Linked DNA regions of Homo sapiens: region 2 is linked to region 1. The links are contacts of gene promoters, found by promoter capture Hi-C in human tissues and cell types (Jung and others, 2019). All regions are on one chromosome and are shown on one strand. Each heading gives the region's core, a stretch centred on a gene start or on the middle of the fragment in contact. The rest is flanking DNA. Distances are from core to core; before and after follow the strand shown.

Region 1 (6,530 bases), core at 2,788-5,287:
GCCTGCTGCTTGTCCACCTGCTCTCCCAGCAACTCACACTTCAGAGCCAGGGTCCTCTGTTCCTGGGGGCCTTCAGAATCCACCCCCCACCAGCCAACACTCGGCACCATACAGACGTCTCAATCCAGCCTCATCTCAGCCGTCCCCCCAGGTCACCAAGCTTCAGGTCACCCTTGAAACCCCCACACCCCACATCCAATCCTGGCCCAAATCCAGACCCCAGCTACATGGGCCATCCCCACCCAGGCCACCTGCCGCCTCCCGCTCTGCCCTCATCCCCTGAAACCATCCTGATGCTGCCATTGAAACCCAAAGCCTCACCCCAGTGCCTCCGGCTCAGAATCCGCAGGCTCAGAACCCACAGGCTCAGCTACCTCCAGTGACAGCCACAAGCTTCTGATGGCCCCAGGGCAGACATGATCTGCACCCCCAGCGCCCTGCCCTGCCCCTGCGGTCCCCCTCTCACCTGGCATCAGCCACGCAGGCCACTCTCTGACCCTTGGACACACGCAGCATGTGTCTTCTCAGGGCCTTTGCATGGGCTCTTCCTGCTGCCTGGAGCTGTTCCCTGCATGGCTGCCTGGCTCCTTCCTCCTCCCCTTCAGGTCTTCGAGGCCTCCCTGACCCTCTGCTTAGAACTGCAGCCCCTTGGCCGGGCGCGGTGGCTCACGCCTGTAATCCCAGCACTTTGGGAGGCCGAGGCGGGCAGATCATGAGGTCAGGAGATCGAGACCATCCTGGCTAACACGGTGAAACCCCGTCTCTACTAAAAATACAAAAAATTAGCCGGGCGTGGTGGCGGGCGCCTGTAGTCCCAGCTACTCAGGAGGCTGAGGCAGGAGAATGGTGTGAACCCGGGAGGCGGAGCTTGCAGTGAGCCGAGATCGCACCATTGCACTCCAGCCTGGGCCAGAGCGAGACTCCTCAAAAAAAAAAAAAAGAACTGCAGCCCCTCCCCCAGAGCCTCTGTCCTGGACTCACTCACAGACTACACACCACTTGTTTCATTAGTCACCGTGGAGGCAGGAAGGGTTTTCACCATTTTGTTCTCGGCCTGTTCCCAGTGCCAGGTGCTTAGTAGAAACTCATATGGCTGGGTGCGGTGGCTCACGCCTGTAATCCCAGCACTCTGGGAGGCCGAGGTGGGAGGATCACTTGAGCTCAGGAGTTCGAGACCAACCTGGCCAACATGGCGAAACCCCGCCTCCACTAAAAATACAAATATGAGTTGGGTGTGGTGGTGCACGCCTGTACTGGGAAGCTGAGCTGGGAGGATCGCTTGAACTCAGAAGGTGGGGGTGGCAGTGAGCTGAAGTCATACCACACTGCACTCCAGCCTGGGCAACAGAGCGAGACCCTTTTTCAAGAAAGAAAAGAAACTCAATAAATGTGTTGAATGAAAATTCCATCTCCTGGACAAGGGCCACCACCTCCAGGAAGTCTTCCCTGAGGCCTCTTGCTTTGGGAGTCTGAGTGGAGTCCTTGTTCTTCTGTGCAGCACCCCCACCCCCATCTCCAGGCACCTGGACGCAGTAGGTGGGTGAGCCAGGGGGCCAGGCAGGGGAGGGGCTAACAACTGCCCAGCAGCCCCATGGCAATGTCAGCCCTTGGGGCCGGGGGCCTAGAGACTGAGACCCTGAGACTGTCACAGGCCTGGGCCCCCTTTCCACGACTGGGGCTGCTCCCCCCGGGGCCCCTTAACTAAAATCTCCAACAGAGCCTGGGTCCCGAAGCGTGGCTAGTTCACCATCAGGGAGGGCGCTTGGCCTTGGATGTTGATCCGAACCACGAAGGCTGGGGGCCCTGCCTTGAGCCGACAGCCCTGCAGTTCATCCTCAGAGACTTGCCTTGGGGGCCGAGAGGGTGCCCCTAGGCGCTCACATCATTACAAAGCATAGGGCTCAAGGCACTGCTTGAGGAAGGAGGCTGGTTCCTGTTCCCAGGGGTGTCCTCAGGGGAGACACTGTGTGGGCAGAGCAGGGACACCTGTGACCCCCCCGTGCTACAGCTCAGTCCCACCTGCATGCACTGCTCGCGGCTGCGTAGACCTTTCTGGAAGGACACCCCAGAATTGGGTCCATGGCTGGCCTGGACCAGGGCTGAACGGGAGAATGTCGCATTGAATGTTGGCCTCTGGGGATGTGTTCATCAGTTTAATAATACACGTACACTTAAATAATTGTTTAAGAAACAGGGGTACTTCCAAGGAGGTTGGGAAGAGGCAGCCTGCGGGGGCCTGAGGCCAGTGATAGGGTAAGGGAAGCCGGGAGCAGGACAGGGAGCCAAGGTACAGGCAGCCGTGTGACACCTTTTCTGCAGCTTTAAGGGCTGGAAGAGGTGCTGAGCTCCTTCTACCCCCAACTACTGAGGCTGGAGATGAGGAGAACAGTGGGGGGCTGTCCTCCAGACACGGGGAATGCCCAGACCCCAAGGGTAGTGTTGGGGGAGGCATATAAATAACAATAAATACACATAAATAGGGGGTGCCCTCTGGGGAGCACACGTGTCCAGTCTAGGGGCCCCACGGCCTCGGCGGTCACACTGAACGGGGCAGCACGCAGGTGCAGCCGACGGGGACGTGGATGAACTCGGTGTGGAAGGCAAAGGCCCCAGGTGTGGGGAGCCCCGAGCCGTCGCGGGAGCAGGGCCGGCGGCGCAGCACCAGCAGGCTCTGGAGCAGCCGCACGGAGTTGAGCGCAGCTGTCTCGCGGCCCGTCCGTGCATCGATACAGCCTCTGCACAGGCACTCGGCGAAGGCCAGCTTCTGTGGATAGCGGTCCTCATCCGTGTCCACACTGCGGGACGGGGTGCACAGTGAGTCTCTGGCCCTACCCTGTCCTCCTGGAGGCCCCTCTCCCCTCAGGGCCCCTCTCCGTGTACTCAGGATAGGACCTGAGGCAGCGAGGGCTGAGCCACACGGGCTTGGGGTGCAGTCGGGCTCACATGTGGTGGTAATCCACGTCTCCCCAGGGCCCTCCAAGAGCACAGAGCAGGGTCCGGAGGCCTCTAGGAGCCTCCCTTCCACTTCATCACCCAGCCCCACTTCTGCAGGAGCTCAGGTGACGGGCCCAGAATTTCCCCAGGGGACCCTGGCCACCTAGGACAGTGGGAGGCAGGGCACGGCCAGCCGCAAGCAGCAGCTCAGCCGTCCAGGTCAGGAGGGCCGGAGGGAGGGAGCTCAGGTGGCCACGCCCACTTGACAGGTGAGAACCACCAAGGCCCAGAGAGCTCTCCGGGCAGTCAGGGCCCCGCCAGGGGAGGGGCAGCCCCACGCCACAGCGGAATCCCCAGGTCCTCACCGGTATCTCCAGGGTGAGATGGAGCGCTGGTGGGTGTCTGCCTCCAACACCTCCTCCGGCCGCAGCACCGGGCACTGGGTCGTAGCTGAGGGCCTCTCGTGCCTCCCCCTGTGGCTTGCTGCCTCCAGGCTGGACACCAGGGCTACAGGCAAAGCCTGCCCCCACTTGGCACCTCGAGCCAGCAGGTGTGGGGGGGCCTGGCCGAGGGGCAGTTCCTCAGCCGAGTAGCAGTGTGGGGTACCGTGACTGTGGGGGTGCCCCCTGAGGGAGGGGTCATGGTGGGCCAGGCATGTGTGCAGCCAGGTCAGAAACAGGAGGCCGGGGAGGAGCTGGTGAAACAGGCAGGTGGGTGGTTAGGAGGTGCCCAGGGCAGGGGGCACCTCACTTCCACCTCAGCTTTCCTTGTTCCCAGCGGAAAGATGGAGTACAGCCCTCCCTCTATAGATGGGGAAACTGAAGCCCAGAGAGGCTAGCCCTTCAGCCCAAGACACCCAGCATGCCAGCGCTCCGAGGATCTGCAGCTGCCTCCCCTACCCCCAGACTGAGGGGTTTCCCAGACCCCATCCCAACACCCTCCTCCCAGGCTCAGAGAACCCCAGCCCTTCCATGCCAGGCTGCACATCCAAGCAGCATCCATCCGAGCGGCATGTGGAGAGGCTCACCGTCATGGTGGCGGCAGCGGGGCAGGCTGGGCTTGGAGCGGCCTGCACACCTGGCGGCAATCCCACAGGTGCACCTGGCCATGCACCTGGCAGCAGCCGCTCTTATACCTGAGGCCACACCTGGGGGAAATTCCGGCACCACTTCCTCCTCGGGAAGTGCCCAGCTGGGGCGCTTCTTCCTTCTCTGGTCCCCGCAGCCCCCGCCTGCTGTGCATCAGGACACAGACATGCAAGGAGGCCCCGGGAGGCGCTGTCCTGTTACCCCCCTCCCCCGAGAGAGACTCCGCCCAACCTGAGCACCTACACAGGGTGCTGCCTTGTCTGACATTCTCAAACTTTTTTTTTTTTTTTGAGACAGGGTCTTGCTGTCACCCGAGCTGGAGGGAAATGGTGCTGTCCCAGCTCACTGCAACCTCCACATCCCAGGTTCAAGCGATTCTCCTGCCTCAGGCTTCCGAGTAGCTGGGATTACAGGCACCCCCCACCATGCCTGGCTAATTTTTGTATTTTTAGTACAGACAGGGTTTTGCCATATCGGCCAGGCTGGTCTGAGGCTCCTGACCTCAAGTGATCTGCTCGCCTTGGCCTCCCAAAGTGCTGGGATTACAGGAGTGAGCCACTGCGCCCAGCCTTGAACCTCCTATAAGAGGGTTTCTGCTTGCGTATCCGTCAGCACCTTGCTGATTCAACTTGTAGGTTTTCATCTGGACCTGATGGTGGCGGGGCGCTTTTGCACCCTATACAGTTCTTCTCCGTCTGCTGCTGGTGGGTGCCAAGGGTGGTTCAGTGTTTTAGCTGAGATGGTCAAGATCAGGTGAGGCTCACGTGCCCCCTTCACCCAGGTGGGAGAGGTCCCGGAGATGGGGGAGGCAGGCACGTCTTCAGGTCTCTGTTGGGTTTCTGTGTTGTTTTTTTTTTTGTTGTTTTTTTGAGGCGGAGTCTGACTCTGTCGCCCAGGCGGGGAGTACAGTGGTGCGATCTCGGCTCACTACAAGCTCAGCTTCCTGGGTTCACGCCATTCTCCTGCCTCAGCCTGCCGGGTAGCTGGGACTACAGGCGCCCGCCACCACACCTGGCTAATTTTTTTGTATTTTTAGTAGAGACGGGGTTTCACCATGTTAGCCAGGATGGTCTCGATCTCCTGACCTCGTGATCTGCCCACCTCGGCCTCGCAAAGTGCTGGGATCACAGGCATGAGTCACTGCACCCGGCCTGGGCTTCTGTGGTTTTATTGAGAAAAAAGTTCAAGCTAAAAAGTCTGAGTTGGAGGTGTGAGGAGTGAGGTGTGAGGTGTGAATGAGGCATGAGGCGTGAGGCGTGAGGTGTGAGGTGTGACCAGCACACACAGGAAGCTTTATGTAAGCGGGGCCGGGAGCTGCCTTTGGCCTCCTTGATCGGTGAGGCTGGCTGGGGGTGGGGGCGCTGGAGGTGCCTTTGTTTCCCCGGAAAGGGACAGCTGCAGCCAGAACTTGGGAAGGTTTGAATGCCGGGGGTTTGACGTCATCCTGAGGAGGGTTGTCCTGGAGTCCCCAGGGCCCCTGGCCACATCAGAGGTGGGGGAATCTGTCCGCCCTGGTCCCCTCAGCTTCGGGGTGAGGGCGGGAGGGAGGGTGCTTGTGTGCCCCCAGCCTTTCCTCCCCTGCCGCGGTGCAGATGTGTTCCACGGAGGTGTCCTCTAAGCTGAAAACCTCAGTCTCTCTGAACACAAAAGCTCCCAAGTCGGGTGGGGCTGAGGCAGCACTGGGACCCCTGGGCCCTCCAGCACCTCCTCTTGGCCGCTGTGTGGCTCTCAGCTTGTCTGCTGTGGGCCTCTGGGGGTGAAGGAGGCTGTGCCCCAGGGTTAACAGTCTGGGAGGAATCAAAGACAGATTGCTGGAGTCCCCAGGGCTGCTCCTCCCGACAGTGCCCCTGCCCACCCACCCTCTGCTTGCATACCTCCTGTGACGGGGAGCTCACTATCCGTGCTGGTTTCCTAGGGCTGTGCTAACCATGCACCACAAACTGGGGGGTGTGAAATGGGAGAAGTTTATTCCACGAGGCCGTGGAGCTGGGCGTGTTCAGGGCTGGGTCCTCCTGGAGGCTCTTCCAGCCCTCAGTTTCCCGGGCTGGCGGCTCCTCCCGTGGCCTCTCTGCTGCACCCGCCTTTTCCTCTTCTGTGGTTTATAAGGACACTGGTTGTTGGATGTAGGGCCCAGTCTAAAAGATAATCCCTCCCCCCTTCTCAGGACGTGGGACCTGCCTTAACCCAGGATGAGCCATCTCAAGATCCTTTCCCTAATTACATCAAAGCAAAAGCCCCTTTTCCAAATGAGCGCGCGTTCACAGGTTGGGTTAGGGTGTGGGTAGAGCCTTTTCCAGGACACAGCAGAACCCACTGCATCCCCAGCAGGACAGGTGCTCCTGTGTGGGTTGGCCCTGCCTTAGGCTGGGCTGATACAGGCCTCTCTGCACGGGCGCTTGGCTGTCTCAGAAAAATTCCAGCCCCTCACGGCCCTCCCCAAAAGGCGGCCTGAGCGCCTTGAGGGCCACGTCTGTGGCAGCCCCATCTGTGTACCCAGGGTTGAGAGTA
Region 2 (6,530 bases), core at 1,127-3,626, 210 kb before region 1:
AGGGTTAAGGAGGGTCAGCCCTGACCACAGAGGAAGTGGAGAGTCAGGGCCACCCAGGCCAGCTCCTGTTGCCACAGCAGCCTCGTCGAGCCACCAGAGTCCGGGGAGGGTTGCTCAGTGCCCCTCGTTTGAAACAGACAAGCACTGGCCTGCTCGTCTTCATAATAATCCCATAGCAACCAGTAGGAATGGAAACTGCGTTTCTTAAAACTCTGAAATTCTGAAGGATACTGATCCATGGCTCACAGCTGTGCTCGCTGAACGTGGACAATCATTTGGGGGCTTTTAGGCCTTTTTTTTTTTTTTTTTTTTTTTTGAGATGGAGTCTCACTCTGGTCACCCAGGCTGGATTGCAGTGGTGTGATCTCAGCTCACTGCAACCTCCGTCTCCCAGGTTCAAGCAATTCTCCTGCCTCAGCCTCCCGAGTAGCTGGGACTACAGGCTCCCACCACCGTGCCCAGCTAATTTTTGTATTTCTAGTGGAGACGGGGTTTCACCATATTGGCCAGTCTGGCCTGAAACTCCTGACCTCAGGTGATCTGCCTGCCTCAGCCTCCCAAAGTGCTGGGATTACAGGCATGAGCCACCACACCCAGCCAGGACTTTTTTTTTGAGACAAGGTCTGGCTCTGTCACCCAGGCTGGAGTGCAGTAGCTCGATCACAGCTCACTGCAGCCTCAAACTACTGGGCTCAAGCAATTTTCCTGCCTCAGCCTCCTGAGTAGCTGGGATTATAGCCGCCCATCACCACACTCGGCTAATTAATTTGATCTTCAATCACTGATACCCTTTCTTCCACTAGATCGAATCGGCTACTGAAGCTTGTGCATGCGTCACGTAGTTCTGGTGCCATGGTTTTCAGCTCCATCAGGTCATCTAAGGTCTTCTCTACACTGTTGATTCTAGTTAGCCATTCGTCTCATCTTTTTTCAAGGTTTTTAGCTTCCTTACCATGGATTCAAACATCTTCCTCTAGTTCGGAGAAGTTGGTTATTACCGACTTTCTGAAGCCTACTTCTGTCAGCTCGTCAGAGTCATTCTCTGTCCAGCTTTGTTCCCTTGCTGGCGAGGAGCTGCGATCCTTTGGAGGAGAAGAGGTGCTCTGGTTTTTAGAATTTTCAGCTTTTCTGCTCTGGTTTCTCCCCATCTTTGTGGTTTTATCTGCCTTTGGTCTTTGATGCTGGTGGCCTAAAGATGGGGTTTTGGCGTAGATGTCCTTTTTGTTGATGTTGATGCTATTCCTTTCTGTTTGTTAATTTTCCTTATAAGAGTCAGGTCCCTCAGCTGCAGGTCTGTTGGAGTTTGCTGAAGGTCCACTCCAGACCCTGTTTGCCTGGGTATCACCAGTGGAGGCTGCAGAACAGCAACTATTGCAGAATAGTAAATATTGCTGCCTGATCCTTCTTCTGGAAGCTTTGTCCCAGAGGGGCACCTGCCTGTATGAGGTGTCAGTGGGCCCCTACTGGGAAGTATCTCCCAGTTAGGCTACACGGGGGTCAGGGACCCACTTGAGGAGGCAATGTGTCCGTTCTCAGAGCTCAAACACTGTGCCGGGAGAACCACTGCTCTCTTCAGAGCTGTCAGACGGGGACGTTTAAGTCTGCCGAAGTTTCTGCTGCCTTTTGTTCAGCTATTCCCTGCTCCTAGAGGTGGGGTCTACAGAGGCAGCAGGCTTTGCAGAGCTGCGGTGGGCTCTGCCCGGTTCGAGCTTCCCTGCCGCTTTGTTTACCTACTCAAGCCTCAGCAATGGCGGACGCCCCTCCCCAGGCAGGCTGCCACCTCGCAGGTGGATCTCAGACTGCTGTGCTAGCAGTGAGCAAGGCTCCGTGGGCATGAGACCCTCCGAGCCAGGCCCGGGATATAATCTCCTGGTGTGTCGTTAGCTAAGACCGTTGGAAAAGCGCACTATTTGGGCGGGAGTGTCCTGATTTTCCAGGTGCAGTCTGTCACGGCTTCCCTTGGCTAGGAAAGGGAAATCCCCCAACCCCTCGCACTTCCTGAGTGAGGCGATGCCCCACCCTGCTTCGGCTCACCCTCCATGGGCTGCACTCACTGTCCAACCAGTCCCAGTAGGATGAACCAGGCACCTCAGTTGGAAATGCAGAAATCGCCGTCTTCTGCGTCAATCACGCTGGGAGCTGCAGCCCGGAGCTGTTCCTATTCAGCCATGTTGGAACGGAATCCCCACACCCGGCTAATTAAAAAAAAAGTTTTTTTTAGTGACAGTGTCTGTCTGTGAGACCCAGGTTGGTCTTGACTTCCTGAGCTCAAGCGATCCTCCCTCCTCAGCCTCCCAAAGTGTTGGGATAACAGACGTGAACCACTGGATCCAGCCCTTTTAGGACTTTTAAGGGAGAGAAGAAAGGTGGTTCCTGCCCGTGGTGCCCTGTGGGGGTTTTAGATGTTCAATGGTAACCTGCTCACTCTGCAGGGAGGCTGTCCACACCTGCTTTTCATAGCCAAGAAAGGCGCCGATAAATAATGAAAGAACAGGGTCAGCAGATGAGAGCTGGCCCAGCAGCCTGGGACGCTGTCCTCAGAAGGCCCACGTGTGGGACGTTGCCCTCGGCTGGTCAGAAGGCACATGTGTGGGAGGTTTTTGCCCTCGGCTGGCGTCTGGGAACAGGAGGTCCCCCCGCTGTTCGCTGATAGGAGCAGCTCACCTTGCCACACTGTTTTTGCACATGCCACGATTTATGCCCAGCATCCTCCTTCTGGGCATAAAGAGTCTCGGCACATGCCAGGCAGAGGCGGCCGCACTGCCAGCCTAGGCAAAAGCCCTGGGAACTGAGTCTCGCACAGCTTCCCCGTCAGCATCCCGCACCTGTGCTCGCAGCCCGAGCGTCCCGTGTGGCTCCGCCTGGGGAGGGTTCCACGCTGCGGCTGGTCTCCCCGGCCCCGCCCGCACCTTCTCCCCTGGCTGATGCCCTCCCCGTTGTAAGTCATGGCAGTGAGTAGGACTGTCGCCAAGACCTGGGACTCCTCCCAGCGAGAGTGCTCCCTTGCGGTATCTTCTGAGTCAGTGGTGAGCGTGGAGCCCCCTCCCTCAAGCCCTGGGACTCCTCCCCGCAGTATTTTCTGGTGAGTGATGAGCGTGGAGCCCACTCCCTTTACAGCATTTTCCGCTGCATCCATTCATGTTATTTGTGGCCTGGAACAGGTAGGAGGATGACCCAGGTGAGCACAAGCAGATCCGGACGCAGCTCTGCTGACTGCCGACCTTCTGGGGAGGCCAGACCCGCCTCGGGAAGCCTCAGGACGCAGCCTGCAGGGAGGGTCGGGCACATGGCACCCAGTATTCAGATGTGCGGCCTCACTCCCAGCCCGAAGGGAGCCCAGCAGTGGTCCTGGGCATGGGCAGACAGTGTAACGGGCGAAACATACTGCTCCCTCCCATCCCAGGCCTTGTGCCCCCGGCCCACCTGCCATTCTGTACTCTCCCACCTGGACTGGAGACAGCAGGAAGTGCAGAAGCCACCTGAGAGGATGAATCTGCACTCGGGGAGGTGGAGGGCAAGGAGCTTTGGGCGTGTGTGGCCAGTCCCCCTCAGGCTGGCCTCAGGGAGCTGTACCGTCCCAGCCTGCACTGCAGGTTTCTGCTGCCTCAGTGGGATGCACCTCACCCTGACATGGGCGCATTCGCCCACTGTGACTAGGTGCCACTGAGCCCAAGGTCCCTTCTCAGCCCATGAGCAGCTCTGCGGGCGTCCTGCCCCCTGTCCTCCCACCTCCCTTTCTTCCTCATCAGCTTCAGGGGACACCTCTCTCTAGGTCCTCCTTTCATTCCAGCCTCCATTGTCCTCAGAAAAGCCATTTCAGTGACTTCAAAATAAACCATCTCAGGGCTGGGCGTGGTGGCTCACACCTGGGATCTCAGCACTTTGGGAGGTGGAGGCGGGTGGACTGCTTGAGCTCAGTTCACTCAAGACCAGCCTGGGCAACGTGGCAAAACTCCATCTCTACCAAAAATACAAAAAAGTTGGCCTGACACGGTGGTTCACACCTGTAATCCCAGCACTTTGGGAGGCTGAGGCAGGTGGATCACCTGAGGTCAGTATTCAAGACCAGCCTGGCCAACATGGTGAAACCCCATCTCTATAAAAAAAATACAAAAATTAGATGAGCTTGGTGGTGGGTGCCTATAATTCCAGCTACTCAGGAGGCTGAGGCAGGCGAATTGCTTGAACCCAAGAGCCGGAGGTTGCAGTGAGCCAAGACCACGCCACTGCACTCCAACCTGGGTGACAGAGTGAGACTCCATCTCAAAAAATAATGATAATAATAATTAACTGGGCATGGTGGCATGTGCCTGTAGTCCCAGCTACTCAGGAGGCTGAGGTGGGAGGATCACCTGAGCCCGGAAGGCAGAGGTTGCAGTGAGCCAAGATCGCGCCACTGTACTTCAGCCTGTTTGTCAGAGTGAGACCCTGTCTCAAAAAAATAAACCATCTCAAAAGGGATCCAAAGCTAAAAGGGCCAAACAGAATTGTGTCCCATGAGACATGGAGGGCCTTTGAGAGGAAAAAGCCCAGACCTGGCCCAGCTCTGGGACTCCACACGTTAGGAGGGGCTGAGGCAAGGAGCGGCCACCCTGCCAAGCTGAGCCTTACAGGCAGGGGCCATGTAGCCTGCCGTCCACCGGGGAAATGGATCATTGCATCCAGACAAAGACCAAGGTGTGACCACGCAGACCTGGATGTCCAGCCACCCACGTGCGCCCAGAGCGGCCCACTGTCCTCCCGCGGTCCCCGGGGCCCAGCGCCCATCCCTCCAGCAGCCGTTCCCAGTCAGCACGCTGCCACCCCCGCCCCCGGTGAGGGCTTCCCCTCTGTTCAGACCCCTGTCACTTCACACAGGCCCCGAGGCTGCTGCTTCTTTGACTTACCAGGACCCAGCGAGTCAAACGCCCACCGGCCCCGACCCAGCAGTGTCAGGGGAGCCCCTGGTCCATCTGCAGAAAACCAGGATGCCCGCACTTCCTTTTTTTTTTTTTTTCAGACGGAGTCTCACTGTCACCCAGGCTGTCCTGCCTCAGCCTCCCGAGTAGCTGGGACCACAGGCGCCTGCAACCACGCCTGGCTAATTTTTTGTATTTTTGGTAGAGACGGGGTTTCACTGTGTTAGCAAGGATGGTCTCGATCTCCTGACCACCTCGTGATCCACCTGCCTCGGCCTCCCAAAGTGCTGGGATTACAGGCGTGAACCACCGCGCCCGGCCTTTCATTCTTTTATAGCCGCTTTACTGAGACGGAATTCGCTGGTGAAAGTGTGCGGGTCATTTTTAGTGTGTTCTCAGAGTCGTCCTGCCACCACACATCGTCACATCATCTTTGTCACCACGGAAGGAAGCCCCAGCCCTGATGGGGGTCACTCCCTTGTGCTCCCCGAAGCCCCTGGCCGACCCGCTCCCCTTTCTGTCTCTAAGGATCTGCCTTTTCTGACGTGTCCGGTGAATGGAATCTTACGGCTCATGGGCCTTGTGTCTATTTTCCCCTCACACAGGGTTTTTGGGCTTCACACACACAGCCTGTGTGAGGACTCCATTCCTTTTCGTGGCTGAGTCATGGTCCACAGTGTGGAGGGACCACGTGTGGCTGAGGCTTCCACCCATGGATGGGCATCCGGGTGTTTCCAGCTTGGCTGCCAGGGAGCGAGCCGCTGTGGGTGTTGGTTCATGCACAGGTTTCCACGTGGACACACTTTTCAGTTCTGTTGGGCGTGTACCAGGGAGGCGCTGCCGGGCGGCGTGGCCACCCTGCGTGGCGCTGCCGGACCTCTCACCAGGTGCTGCGTGTCACGTTCTTACATGGTGTGTGAGGGCTCCAGTTTCCAGTGAGTTCACTTTTAATGTTTTGTTTTGTTTGGTAAAAATCAACCTTAGACAATCAGCGATCAGACTCTAGTCCCTGTCGTGGTGAACTGTGGAGAGACCAAAGTGAGCCTCTCTCCGGCTCTTGGAGCACCAGGGCCCATGCAGCCTGTCTTGGGGTCATTTGAAATGGTGGAAACTTTACAAGGGCCCGATGGGCAGGTGAGCCCCACTCGGCCTCCAGGCACAGCCCTCCTCAAGGTCCCTGCTGTCCATGCAGGTGGCAGTCCTACTCTGTGGGTGAGTCCTGGAGCCACTTGTGACAGGAGGAGGCTGGATGGGGTGAATTTGGAGAAAAGTGGCAGGTTTTTGTTTTTTATTTTTTTGAGACAGGGTTCTCTGTCTGTTACCTAGGCTGGACTGCCGTGGCGCGATCTCAGCTCACTGCAGCCTCTGCCTCCTGAGCTCAGGGGATTCTCCTGCCTCAGCCTCCCAAGTAGCTGGGATTACAGGTGTGTGCCACCATGCCCAGCTGATTTTTTGATTTTTTATAGAGATGGGGTCTCACCTTGTTGCCCAGGCTGGTCAACGAGAGAGAAAAGTATTTCAGAGACTTAAAAAAAGAACCATCGGTGGTCTCCAGTGTGCTTAAGAGCTGCGGGTGGAGCTGTTTGCGTTCCTCCTGAAGGCTTTGGCTGCCAGACATGGCTGGGCTGCAGA

The links. Contacts are between HindIII fragments. The study calls those that stand out against the background at their distance.
Region 2: a fragment that was not itself captured here is called in contact with the fragment with the promoter of IL17C in region 1 in 2 of the 25 tissues and cell types used here (aorta and mesenchymal stem cells).

What each region holds. Positions count from the first base shown.
Region 1 is chr16:88,636,079-88,642,608 of GRCh38, reverse strand. It overlaps IL17C (interleukin 17C), which reads right to left and starts at 4,037. Exons shown (of 3, transcript NM_013278.4): 1 at 3,962-4,037; 2 at 3,300-3,628; 3 at 2,141-2,795. The coding sequence starts at 3,967. The coding sequence ends at 2,537. It overlaps LOC124903755 (a long non-coding RNA gene), which reads right to left. Exons shown (of 2, transcript XR_007065181.1): 1 at 5,897-6,530; 2 at 5,175-5,809. RefSeq lists an enhancer at 1,165-1,992. The HindIII fragment of the contact is 16,303 bases long and covers 1-6,530 here.
Region 2 is chr16:88,847,038-88,853,567 of GRCh38, reverse strand. The region is part of intron 1 of GALNS (galactosamine (N-acetyl)-6-sulfatase); the gene reads left to right. Among named protein-coding and RNA genes, the nearest start is that of GALNS, 6.6 kb to the left of the region's middle. RefSeq lists an enhancer at 3,225-3,394. The HindIII fragment of the contact is 6,360 bases long and covers 1-5,556 here.